2 separate regions of the Homo sapiens genome follow, and region 2 is linked to region 1. The links are contacts of gene promoters, found by promoter capture Hi-C in blood cells and fetal thymus (Javierre and others, 2016). All regions are on one chromosome and are shown on one strand. The core of a region is centred on a gene start or on the middle of the fragment in contact, and the rest is flanking DNA. Distances in the headings are between cores, read along the strand shown.

Region 1 (7,420 bases), core at 1,833-4,332:
TAAATTTTACTAGGCCAGGTATTTTAATAAAACTTTCACATTTCTTTGTTTTGGCATGTATCCATATGTGTCATTTCTGATCTCTCTGCCTCTCCAAGATCATGGTTAGATGATGCATCTCATCGTTATTTCTTTTTCTTTTCCTGAGAATAAACTGTATTTTATAGGAGTTTCTGGTAGGCTTATTTGCATTTTTTCAACAGAGCAACTTTTAATAAAGAAGAAACCTTTGTTAGTTTAAAATTTAATTCTACTTAGAAAATATATTTGTTCTTTAAATATCCCACAGTTTGTACTGGAGAAAAAAAATAACACTTCAGGTTAGACTCTAAACATAATGCATTATCAATGAATTTTAGCCCAGAAAGAATTAGCCTTCTGGGTGCACAGCTTCTCTGTCTTGGCTTCCAGCCAGGGCTGATATTCTAGCTTTATTTTATGTTTCCCCAGCTGCTTTCTAAATCTGGGAAGGCAGCACCAGCCAGAATCTTCTAGTTTGAACACAGTATGCTAAATGCTTCTCTCTTCTCCCTTAGTAATTGCTTGTAAATGATGCACACAAAGTTTGATCTTTGGATTTTATTTCCAAAGGCCCCCTTTCAACTCAAACAGAAAGTACAAGGGGATCATATGAACATTTAACCTACTGGGGACAACTGTTCTACTGGGTTGGAAACATTTATTTAGTACGTTTAAGAACTAATGTTAGTATTGAGATTGAATTATGTTTATTTTAAATCCAAGTATAGAATGCTTTTCTTTGGGAGAAGAAAGAATAGGTATAACAGTTTTTAATCTCAAATAAAAAATGAAAGATCCTTATTTTCCTGAGGTGAACATAAGCATGAGCATATGTTTCTATTTTGATTATCAATTATAGAAATTCCAAATTATGACTTAATATATTTATATATAAAAATAGTCCCCATATACTTCCTTTTGATGTTTAGGATAATATATTTAAAATTACACATTTCTTAAATAATAAGCCTATCTTGGAGAAAACAAAATGTAATTTACATATATTTGCATTTTTATTTATTATTTATATATTTGCATTAATCAATTTAAAAAATTCAAATTTTCAGGAGGTTTTACCTTCCTTTTATTTAAAAATAATGCCTGAGTTTCTAAATTGGATCTAAGGGTGATTTTCAAGTTATATTAGTAACTCATATATATTATAACTTTTTCAAAGGGTTTTTATGTATCAGTCTTAGTGGTGACCAGGTGCCATTCAGATAGAGTTAAAAGGCCCATTCTGCTTAGTATTCAATTTCTAAAAATCTTCCCAATTAGCTTATTATGAGATGTCTATCAATGTAAACATTGTTTAATATTGATCATCATAATGTATTGTCATACGATTTCTTATTTTTAAAAATGTCAACAATAGTAGGCTTAACTTCCCATTTATATATTGAGATAAATGTAAATGGCAATTATATTTTGCTTATTAATTAGTTTTTTATGAATTCCAGTTGAAAACTTAGACTGTTGTAGTCAGTGGACTTTATATTCTTTACATAAACTTGCTACTCACACACACACACACACGCACACACTCATGCACACAAATGACCAGCACAGAACCTATGTGACACTGGGATATAGCTAACTGGCATACTTTTAATAGAGTAGAATAAATTACTCTTTTGATATGAAAAAAAAAAAAAAACCTTTACATCGTTGTGGGAAAATTCATTGCTTCCTAGTTTTGGGGAAATTCAACCAATTACAATAACTTTCATCTTTATCAATTTCCTCTTGGGGCAGAAACCTCACAGGATTTTAACCATGTTGTTGGTGAGAAAGTGGAAAACTAAAATCATTCTGAGAGTTACAGAAACACATCAGTATCTTGGTATGCAATTTATGTTAAAGCATTTATGAAACTGTGCAAATGAAAAATATTCTGATAAAAGGCACCACGAAAACAAGCAAAGGTGAGTTTGAAAGAGACATGATAAAACATAAACTTAAAACTTTCTAAAGCTGTATGAGAACTCACAGTATAACTTATCATAATAAACAAAACATATAATCACTTAAAAAAACTATGACAGGAATTCTGTAGAATATAGTATTTTATTAATCAGGACAAATTCTAAGAAAAATAAGGTTTAATTTTCCTTATTTAGCTTTCTCAAAAAGAATATTGAAAAGAATGAGTAAAACCATATTCCAATAACATTTCTTGTTTTCCAACTTATTCTGTGCTTGAGGAAATTGGAGGTATACCATAAAGCTTTCTGTCCTCCTAGGAAACTATGCTTAGGGCATATGACATATATTGTTCTAAGAATTTATTTTTCTTTTCTAATAGGAGGTAGGAGGAAAGCACCTATTTCTTTATAAGCAATTTATGACTGTAACATACAATTTCACATGTCTGTGACAGCTGTTTCTCTAAAGCAGACCATTAGTACAGAGCATGCCTATAAATCTCAGGTCCAAAAAACAGGAGTTCCCATCTTCGGTAATTTGAATGCCATGTTTTCAGTAACACTTATTAGGGAAACATTTATAACCCTACAGTTAACTTTGGATGTTGAGTTTGTAAAATTGGTGCTTTTAATATGAAAAGGCTAAAGTTGTTATCAAATAAGATATTTCCTATGCAAATGTTCCGGCAACTGTTTAAATTTTATCAAGTTGTATCTCTTTTTTTTTATGTACGACTGTATTTTCTACTTACGTGCAAATATAACTTCTATAAAGCATGATGACAGGTAAGCACACACATGCGGAAAAGGGAGATTGAATTTGGTTTTAAGATATTATCTGCTTCTACATAAATCTTTCACAAATAAAACTTTATTGTGTCCGACTTGTTTACATAGCTAAGCAACGCATATTCATTTATGATACACACCTCGATTTCAGCAAATTAAGCAGTAACTTACCTAGAGAAGCATTTCAATATTTTGTCTTTTTCTAACTTGAATTTATCCCGTGTTAGAACATGAGATATCCAGTATTCAGGTTCACTTGGCTCCAGGTTAATTAGAAGGAGCTTTCAGTTCATGCAATCTGCCTCAACAATATTCCAAGAGCACTCTCTAGCTCCAGTCTTAGTGTCTGAACTCTTCCAGCAGAGTCCTTTTATTTATACACACATTGTCCTTTTCAAAACAAGCAGCCAGCTGGAATGATTCAAACCTCTGTTCAGCACACCGTTAAAATGCAGCTTCCTTCTTGGACACGAGAATTACACCAGGGAGCAGACCGAGTACAGCAAAAAGGCTATGAGAACTATTTAATCACCGGAATACCAGCTGCTCCTGCTCTGCTGTTGCTAGTGCTGCTGTGCCTCTTGTTTAGCTGTAGTCGGTCTTTCCCTCCCTCCCTCTCTCTCACATCTCCAGAACTATAAAGGCAGCTTTGCCGGATTATGATTGGCAGAAACAGCCAATTCCTTCAGCTAATCATCCTCAAGACTTTCAAGGACCTGGAGCTGTTGTGATGTCATCCAGTCAGTGGGATGTTACACATGAATACATTCCAACAGAAGCTAATTCAGCGATGGGCTGCATTCCGCTCACACCGCGGTGATTGATTAGATGCTCCTTGAAGATTTGCATAATCTTTCATTGTACAGTTCGACTATTTCCTATGAAATTTGAGGATAGAATTCCACTTTGCAGCTATGACACTGTTCCACGAGATTCTATTGGACAAAATAAGAAAAGTTCAAAGCAGGATTTTCTGCTGTAAATGTGTGCCAGTTAAACACAAAAATTACAAACTCAACAAAAGCCAACAATGAGCAATAGGAAACTCGGACAAGTATTAGTAAGCTACATAGTCCTGAAGTTAATAACAGCATTTTAGACCATGATAAATGTTAGAAGAAAAGAAAGAGTATGTGCGTGTGAATTTATTGTGTGCATTGTTTTAGTAATTAAGGTAAACTACTGGATTATTATGGAAAAGTTCTTTTCTATGTCTCTTTTCTTCTTTTTAACGTGGCAATATAAGTTGAAAATTACCTGCTCTTTGTTTTCTATTAATTCGTGTAAACACATAAAGATATTATCAAGTACTTTTATATACATTATGTAAAGTTCTTTAAACTTATTCATTAGGATATATGTAAAAGTAAAAGTAAAGTGCTTTCAGGTACTTCTCCTCATTCCAGACTACATGATTCCCTGGGCTTTTCTTGCTTTAGTACATCCCTTAGTTTCTACCATTTAATTTAGTGGAATAAGATAGGCTAATGAGAATTTGGTTCAACACCCCTAATAGGTTGCAGAACAGAACTACAAGCTTTTCTCAACTCCAAGTCCTCCTCAGGTATATGGGTGTCTTTGGTTGTACGTAGTAGTTCCACTTGAAATACTGGTGTGGTTTCAATGAAATCCTCTATAAGACTGGAAGGTAGGGGTAGGAGGGAGTCCTTCAAAACTCAGCATTTATTGATGATGTGGTCTTTCAGAAGAATAATTTTAATGCATCCAGGATTACTAGTATTATTATACTGCACAAGGTTTTGAGGGTTAGCAAGCCATAGACATATGCCATACAGAGAATAGGGAAAAAAAATCTAGCAAGTTAGAAAAAATATTTACCAGTTATTCATAAGCAATAAATAAAACCTAGTAACTCATAGGTCATGTATCAGTTAGTTTTTCAGGTGCACAGGCTAAAATATATTAAAGAAAAAATTTATATTTTAAAAATAATTAAAGCGTTCAGGTACTTCTTACTACCTTTTAAAACATTTGGAATGCAAAGATGCATTGAAGTCAAGTCAGAATTTTCAGAGTGATACACATCAAAATTCAAAATGGATAAATAAACTGCAGTTAAATATTTCAAAGATGTCATAATAAAATAATTATTACTAGAGTAGCATCATGGGAAACACTAACAGTTGATAAATAACATAAAATAGCATAAATTGTAAAAGCCAATTGAAGATTTTTCTGTTGTATGTAGTTTGGCTTACTAATAATGCCTTCTTCTTTATTCAAGTTGGGTAATTATTTTTAAGTCTTAACTTTAGAAAAATAATTTAAATGAAAAACTATTATAAATGCTCAACATCTTTATATTATTGACATAGTTCTATTTCACAACTCAAGAATGCCACTTTATCAGAGTATTTTCATTTATTGGAACTAAATGGCAACACAGTGATCTGAAGATAAAACCCATCACATTAAAACATGGAGCAGGGTTTATATCCTCGGCTCTAGTGATAAACTAGAGCTGATATCCATTGATGATTACAAGTGAAAAATGTTGATCAACTTCTTCTCTAGCATTAAACTATAAACAATGTTTTAAGCTGAAGAGGTAACTACTTTCACAGTGTAAAAATGCTATATAAAATATTAATAGAAGATATTCTTATTAAAGGTAAAATTCTTTTAAATATTTGTGAAACATGAACTTTGAAATTCAAAAAATCCAGAGATGAGTAATTAAAATTCAATTTAGGGAAAAAATACCCAACTTTACTCTCCCTGCCTCATTTTTCATTCAGAAATACACTAAGTACTGAAGGCAGAGGGTCCCACCATATACATATGTATAAATGAATGGAAACCCACCAAAAAGTGCTTTCTTTTCTATTCCTGGGGAAAACCAGAGAAATTCACAACACTCACACTAAAACAAAACAAAATAATCCTCAAAGTATTTTGAATATTTTTCTTATACTTTTCTTTGTATATTGTATTCGCAAATGACTAAAACAAACATATTTGTGAATTTGTAATCTTTTATCATTTTCTCATCTGTCATGTTGGGAAAATGAAATAAATGACCTTGGACATTTCTGGGAAGAAATGTAATACACAAGAGAGAAAAGAGGAAATAATTACTTGCTCAAAGTGTTTTAATTTTTTAAATCATTTAACTTGTGTTCCACAATTTACAGGGCTTGCACTTAAATATCAAAATGTAGCATCAAGTCAGCTCATTTTCAACAATACACGCAATGCAAAGCATTCACCCAATTGCTTATAGTTGACTTTTAAGAAGAAAGTGGATGCTTTTAAGTTTCTTTAAGCACTCTATAAAGTATAATATAATTGTTCTTTTATCTATTAAGATGTAGGTCCAGACTTATATTAAGACCTCAATGGATTTTTAAAAAATTGAATTGAACTTGTTGAACTAATAAACTTTTAGAGCTCCACATATTTTTATTCAGTTGCTCTCTTGACTCAGCAAAAGTTAAAGTAGTATTTGCCCACTACAAAACCTTTTCATTCAACTGAATTTATCTTTGAATTTACCTTTTAAATTTTCAGTGGCGTTTCCTTGGAAGTTCAAGAAATGTGTATGTGTTATATGCATTATTTGGAAATTTTAAAAGTGAAAAACATTGAAAACATTATATAATATACACTTATAACATATATCTAAGAACATAATATACTTTCAATTTAATTTATAAATACATATATACGCTTTGTTCTTTATAATACACACATATATCTTTGTATATACTTACTCAATAGAAGAAAAAAAGATGTTTATTTTAAAAGGAAGGTCTTTTTTTTGTTTGTATGTCAAGTCTTTATTACAGTGAAAATGAGAGGGTAGTAATATCTACTAATAAAAATCTTAGAAAACTTCAAAAAAACTCGGTAAATTTAACAATTTCAAAAATTTTCATCATTTTCTTTCTCATTTTGTTCTGCTAATTGTTACTAATGGTAAGTTTTAAATGCTTGCCTCTAAAATAAATAAAGGTTTGCACAGAAAATACTAAAACAAGATTCCAAGTACTTCATAATTTCTACTTTTTAAAAAATTATTCACATGCATATACAGGCTATAAACAGAAGATATTTAGATCTTTAAATGTACATTTTTATTCATTTCAAGTTTCATCTTTTTTGTTACTTTTAGAGCAAAAATAATTTTGAATGAGCACAACCAAATAAATTTATAGTTCTCACAATTTTGATTGAATGCGTTTAGTTTAATTTACAGTCTTCACTACTAAAACTTATAAATACAAGATTCTATTACCACACTACCACTTTCTGTCTATATCCTTTTCTTTTAATTTTATTTTTTAACATGAGCAACTATCCTGTTGTACCAACACGAAAGGCTATAACTCTTTTTTAAAAGAAAAAGCATGAATAAAAGAAACTTCTACGTTCAAAGTTTATGCCTTCAGGGAGCAGGGGAAGCCTCTAATTGGGCTGTGAGTGACTAATACAAAAACTTTTTATTAAGAGAAAAAAATCTTCTGCTAGCAATTGTTAGGATAAGAACTTATGTGAGAAAGAAGTTGCATAAAGTCACTTTTGCTTCAATGGTATCATAATACATGATAAAAAAATCGTAAGTGCCAAATAGCATTACGTGGATAACAAACACCCCAGTCACAGACTTAGATGTTATCTTATTACACATCTGGATCTCTTGTTAGCAAGTTATTAGAAAAAGG
Region 2 (7,017 bases), core at 3,987-6,486, 3.2 Mb after region 1:
TGGGATCTACCTGCAAAGATGAGCCACCCTGGTCCTCTTGGCCTGTGTTAAGTTTAGCAGACACTGACGTTTATTTAAAGCCACAAACAAAACCAAAAGAAGAGCTAAAAACAAAAATAAAAACATAAATACATGCTCAAAAATTAGGAAGATAAGCAAGAATGTGAGAAACAGTAATATAAATGAGCTAAATGTCTCCCCCTCATGTGGGGAGCCAACAGATACTGCTTAAAGTTGAAAAATTAACAAAGGTAAAAGCGTAATTGGAATTATGAAGATAATCAGCAGAGCTTAAACAAATGGTAAAAGCAAGTTGCCTTTGATAACTGGGACTAGAGTGCTGGACCTGGGAAAAGTATTTAAATTTTTATTTCCAAATGCATTAATTGCTGTACTTGTATAACAACAATAATTTGTCATTTTAAAGATCAAGACTGTAAATATTCAGGACAAACTGTGTCCAGAAGGAGGACCACAGAAGCAAGAAATCTAAGCAGCATCAGATACTGGATATTATCCAAGAGATTAACTAATAAACAGGACCTCTGCTATAGTGTAGTGTCAGCACTACAGTACAAGAGTTTCAAAATATATCCTGTGGATCTTGAGCAGACCTCAGTCCTCTTCAGGGGGTCTGCAAGGTCAAAACGATTTTTATAATAATGTGAATTCATTATATGCCTTCGTCATTGTGTTGATATTGATACTAATGGTGCAATAACAATAATGGGTAAAACTGCTCGTGCTTTAGCATAAATCAAGCCAGTAGAATTAATCTGTACTATTGTATTCATCATCATCACACACTCATTTTTTAAAACAGTGTCACTTATGATTTGACAAAGCAGTAAAATTATTGATATTATTACATTTCCACACTACAGTATATGCTTTTTAATCTTCCGTGTGACAAAATGTGAAGTGTGCCTGAAGCATGTCTGCTACATACTGAAGTAGGTGGTTGTCTTGAAAAAAAAGCCCTTGAGCAGCTGTTTGAGTTGCAAGTGGAACTAGCCACTTTATTCATGGAACATCCTTTTTACTTGAAAGAATGACAGAGAATTATGGTTATTCAGACTTGAGCAATTGGCAAATGTTTTCTTAAAACTGAACGAAGTGAGCCTCTCACTTCAACAAAAAACAATTGACAGTATTTCTTGCCAATTATAAAATTTCAGCTTTCAAGTAAAAATTAGAATTTTGTACAACTTGTATTGCTACCATGAGCTTCACAGCATACTCATATTTAAAGATCTTTCTGATGAGATTGGTGGTGATATTAAAAAACGTAATTTTCTAACATTATATAATGAAAGGTGTCAATGTTTGAAAGATCAGCATAACTCAGTAAACCATTTTCCAAAAAAGCAATGCATGAGGTCACAAAACACATATACATAGTATACAGTATACATATACATAGCATAATCGTTATAATAGTGAAAGGTCTATTCTCAGAGTAAGATAAACCAGTAGATTTTAATGTAGCACAGTATGAACAGTTCATTGATTTATTTCAGATTCCACATTGCAAAAATATCCTTTAAGACAATAGCACTTGTCAATTTTGAATGTAGTATCAAAGAAAAATATCCACAATTATCTGAAAAGGCTATAAATATATACTTTCTTTTCCCACATATGGGTATATAAATATATACTTTCCTTTCCCATACACATAAGGGTATGAGGCCAGATTTTCTTCATATACTTCAACAAAACAACCTATCAAAATAAATTGAATGCAGAAATAGATAGGAGAATCCAATCTCTATTAAGCCAAACATTAAAGAAATTTACCAAAATGTAACACAATGCCATTCTTCTCATTTTCTTTTGTTTTGGGAAACATAGCTATTTTTTCTTTAAAACTATAGCTTTATTATGGGTTTGTTCTTGTTATTTTTTAATGTTTTTTGATTTCTCCATTTTAATTTCTAATAAATTAAATATTAAAAACTATAACTCTATATTATCTATATAGAGTTATCTATAATATTGATAAATTTATCTATAATATTGATAAATATAATGCTTTTGTTTTATAAACAAAAGCCCTTTGGGGTTCTCAACAATGTTTAAGAATGTAAAAGGATCCCCAGACTAAAAAGTATGAGAGCCATTGGCACGGGAGTTGGAAGTAACTTAAGTACCTAAAGCCAAGATTTACACCATCAACAATAGGCTAGAAAGAAAATAAGTGGGAAGCCAGACTACACCTCCTCTCCACCACCTTCCCACTCTACTCCCAGAATGGAGTTGCCTGGCTAGAGATGAAGGAATACTGCAAAAAGGAAAAGAGAGGTAAATTCAAGTTTGGGTTTCTTCTCCCCCTGCCTTCCTCCTTGACACCAAGCTGAGCCCTAAAAATGGAGGATGAGAGATCTTTAAGTCTGAGGATCAAACAGTAGAGAAAGCTGTGCCCTACTTTCCATTTAAAACTCTGCAAAGCAGCAACCTCCTCCGTGTACTCTGCCCACCAATGGTGAAGGCCCTCCCTCCAAGCAGTAGAGATAGCTCATGGTATCCTAGGTATAAATACACAGGTTTGCACAAGCTCCACAGTGGCACAGGAGAACACATAAAAGTTCCATTTCTCCAGATAAGCTGCAGGAATCACCAAGAAAAGCCTTTTAAATCCAAAGGGACCTGGCAGCTGGGACAAAGACGGCATTGAATAACCTGCACAGATTGATGACTACGGGCCATGAAAGGAGCCTAGACCGTGGAATCTAGAGATCACTTTACAAAGACTGAACCTGTTGAGGTTCATCCAATGCCAGCAGAGGAGAGATGATGGCTGAGAACAGATGTTACCCTACCACTTCATGTCCACTGCCATGACCACCTTTGGAAGAAATGGAGAGAACAATCTTGACTTTGACTGGGTTTTCCTAAAAGATATTTAAAAATCATATCTTGAATGGGGACAATTATTAAAAACTAAAGAAAGCTCTATTTTGGACAGGTTGTGAATTATGGAATTTTTACGCACTACATAAGCATTACATTTCAGGTCCAATTAGCAACAATGGATACTCAGGGAAAAAGGGCACTCAGCTAGGGTTTGAGGTTAGTGATAGGCTCTGCCTCAGTTAAGATGATCCAGTGTACACACAGTGATGTAGTCAGGGTTGAGTCTGCAGGTGAGGTTCATCTGTGGATTACCATCTTCCTCCAAAAAACCTATTCCATTCTTGTGGTAGACACACTCTAAGAGTGATGATGCCTTTATATGATCCTATCTCCTTGAGTGTAGGCAAGAACTGTGAATACTATAGGATAGTGAATCCCTTGGTTAGCAAACCCCACATTTGATCTGTCAAGAAATCCTGTTGGCTCAATCTTCACTTCTATCCAAAACCAACCACTTCTCACCAAATCCAGGGCTGCCACCTCATTCTAAGATGCCATAATCAGCTGGGCGCGGTGGCTCACGCCTGTAATCCCAGCTCTTTGGGAGGCCAAGGCGAGTGGATCACAACGTCAGGAGATTGAGACCATCCTGGCCAACATGGTGAAAGCCCATCTCTACTAAAATTCAAAATAAAAAATTAGCCGGGTGTGGTGACACACACCTGTAGTCCCAGCTACTCAGGAGGCTGAGGCAGGGGACTCACTTGAACCCAGGAGGCGGAAGTTGCAGTGAGTCAAGATCGCGCCACTGCACTCCAACATGGCGACAGAGCAAAACTGTGTCTCAAAAAAAAAAAAAAGATGCCATAATCTTTATCCTGGTTATCCTCCCTACTTCCAGGTATCTGTACTACAATCCGCTATTAACCCAACATCCAGGGTAATCCTGAGAGGTGACAGCACGCTGGCAGCCCTCACAGCCCTCACTCGCTTTCGGCGCCTCCTCAGCCTCGGCGCCCATTCTGGCCGCGCTGAGGAGCCTTTCAGCCTGCCGCTGCACTGTGGAAGCCCCTTTCCGGGCTGGCTGAGGCCGGAGCCGGCTCCCTCAGCTTGCCGGGAGATGTGGAGGGAGAGGCGCGGGCGGGAACCTGGCCTGCGCGCGGCGCTTGCGCGCCAGCGCGAGTTCCGGGTGGGCGTGGGCTCCGCGGGCACCGCACTCGGAGCGGCTTGGCCAGCCAGCCGGCCCCGCCGGCCCCGGGCATTGAGGGGCTTAGCACCTGGGCCAGCAGCTGCGGAGGGTGCGCCGGGTCCCCCAGCAGTGCCGGCCCACCAGCGCTGCGCTCGATTTCTTGCTTGGCCTTACCTGCCTCTCCGCGGGGCAGGGCTCGGGACCTGCAGCCACCCATGCCTGCGCCTCCCCCCACCTGGGCTCCTGCGCGGCGGGAGCCTCCCCAACGAGCGCCGCCCCCTGCTCCACCGCGCCCAGTCCCATCGACCGCCCAAGGGCTGAGGAGTACGGGCGCACTACGCGGGACTGGCGGGCAGCTCCACCTGCGGTCCAGGTACAGGATCCACTGGGTGAAGTCAGCTGGACTCCTGAGTCTAGTGGGGACTTGGAGAACCTTTCTGTCTAGCTAAGGGATTGTAAATACACCAATCAGCGCCCTGTGTCTAGCTCAAGGTTTGTAAACACACCAATCAGCACCCTGTGTCTAGCTCAAGGTTTGTAAACACACCAATCAGCACCCTGTGTCTAGCTCAAGGTTTGTAAATGCACCAATCAGTGCTCTGTGTCTAGCTAATCTAGTAGGGACTTGGAGAACTTTTGTGTCTAGCTCAAGGATTGTAAACGCACCAGTCAGCACCCTGTCAAAACGGACCAATCAGCTCTCTGTAAAATGGACCGATCAGCAGGATGTGAGTGGGGCCAGATAAGGGAATAAAAGCAGACTGCCCTAGCCAGCAGTGGCAGCCTGCTTGTTTGGGTCTTCTTCCACGCTGTGGAAGCTTTGTTCTTTTGCTCTTTGCAGTTACTCTTACTGCTGCTCACTCTTTGAGTCCACACTGTGTTTATGAGCTGTAACTCTCACCATGAAGGTCTGCAGCTTCACTCCTGAAACCAGCAAGACCACGAACCCACCAGAAGGAAAAAACAAGCTGCGAGACCAGGAAGAAACTCCGAACACATCCGAACATCAGAAGGAACAAACTCTGCACACGCTGCCTTTAAGAACTGTAACACCCACCGGGAGGGTCCGTGGCTTTGTTCTTGAAGTCAGTGAGACCAAGAACCCACCAAGTCCGGACATAATCCTTTTACAAATTAAATCAAAGCACTTTAATTCCTGCAATAGCTCTACTTTTTATGCTACGGTCCTTATAGTGGCCTGCAAGGCCTTACATGATGTGGTATTCATCACCTTTCTAACCGCAGCTCCTCTTTTCAAACTCTCATTCTGCAACAGTTGCACTGGCTCCCTTGCTGACTATCTTATTTAAGACATTCATGTTAACATGCCCACAAATATCAACGTGGCTAACTTCTACACTGTAGTTCAGTCTTTGCTCAGATGTCATTTTCTCAATAAGGCCTACCCTGACAACCTTACATAAAATTTCACCCCTTCCTCCCTTCCCTGACTCCTGATTCCTATTACTCCGAACTAATCTTTTTTGAACCATAGCACTTAAAATCTTATAACTAATTCTGTAGTTTACCAATTTTATTAGATCTTTTGTCTTCTCCTACTTGAATAAGCTTCTCGAAAGCAAACTATTTGTCTTTTCTTTCATCAATATATCCCCACATCGATGGGTCTAGTCTCTGAAATAATAAGTGCTCAATAAATACTTGTTGAATTAATTTCACAATAAGTAACTGGAAAAGACATGACAGTTTTAACATACATATGTTCTTATATTTAAGTGCTAGAAAAAAGTATAACTTTTCATAAAAATCAATAAATTCGATTAACAAAAATATATATTTCCCCAATCATACAAAGACTTAAAACTGTCTTCTAAATAACAAAAAATAAATTCAATTTTAAATAATAATTAAAATTAGCAAAATAATTATTAAATGTAGGACAAAAAAACAAAACCTCTAACTTTTAAATGATAATTACCAGATAATTCTTATAAGTTATCCTAACAATAATACCAAAAGGAAGATACTGCTGGTTTCCTTCTACAGATGAGGAAACAGGTTTGGAATGGATAGATAATTTTCCCAAGGTCACACAAGTAGCAAAGCTCAGACTTATTTTATACCTAGTATCATTTTTCTCCCTTTACACACAACACCAGTTAAGAGCATGGGCTCTGAGCCAGTGAGACTACATTCAAATCCACTTCAAACCTTAGGTTAATTACATTATTTCTCTGTGCCTCAATCTATTCATCTGTAAATTAGAGACAATAATTGTATAGCGCTCATACAATTGTTAGGATTAAATGAGTTAATGAGCACATAAGTACTCAATAAACATTAGTTATCACCATTACTACTATCTCCCTTAGAGACTGTAAATAATTGTAGTCAGGTGCAGTGGCTCACACCTGTAATCCCAGCACTTTGGAAGGCTGAGGTGAGCAGATCACCTGAAGTCAGGAGTTGGAGACCAGCCTATCCAACATGGCGAAATCCCGTCTCTACTAAAAGTACAAAAATTAGCCAGGCGTGGTGGCGTACGCCTGTAATCCCAGCTACTTGGGAGGCTGGGGCAGGAGAATCACTTGAACTCTGGAGACGGAGGTTGCAGTAAGCCGAAATCTGCCACTGCACTCCAGCCTGAGCGTCAGAACAAGACTCTCAAAAAAAAAAAAAAGATACTGTAAATAATTATTTTCAGAACCCTTTTGTGTTATTTTATATAATTTACTTTCTTAGTCCTTTTCAGTAAGTTCTGTTCAGTGCTATAAAGAATGGTGGGTATTTCAAAATTCGTATGGCTTTTATCAAATTTAAGTCCTCAATTGCAGAGATTTCTTTCTAGACCTTCTGTTTTCTAAGAAATACTGCCCATTTACATAAATTATCATCCTGATAAAAGGGTTTTAAATTAGAGAAATACAAAAGTCACTTATCTGGTTCTATTCTACTTAGTTTTCTATAGTTTTACTTATATAATTAAGAAATAACTACTAACACGTCTTACA

What was found. Contacts are between HindIII fragments. The CHiCAGO score rates a contact against its expected background, and 5 or more counts as called.
Region 2: a contact is called between a fragment that was not itself captured here and the fragment with the promoter of NDST4 in region 1, in 1 of 17 cell types (total CD4 T cells). The highest score is 5.7, in total CD4 T cells.

Annotation. Positions count from the first base shown.
Region 1 is chr4:115,110,538-115,117,957 of GRCh38, forward strand. It overlaps NDST4 (N-deacetylase and N-sulfotransferase 4), which reads right to left and starts at 3,083. Exons shown (of 14, transcript NM_022569.3): 1 at 2,907-3,083. The HindIII fragment of the contact is 2,024 bases long and covers 2,247-4,270 here.
Region 2 is chr4:118,261,565-118,268,581 of GRCh38, forward strand. LOC105377392 (a long non-coding RNA gene) reads right to left here and starts at 4,469. Exons shown (of 3, transcript XR_939113.3): 1 at 4,220-4,469. It overlaps LOC124900765 (a long non-coding RNA gene), which reads left to right and starts at 4,387. Exons shown (of 2, transcript XR_007058244.1): 1 at 4,387-4,418; 2 at 4,887-5,207. The HindIII fragment of the contact is 751 bases long and covers 4,862-5,612 here.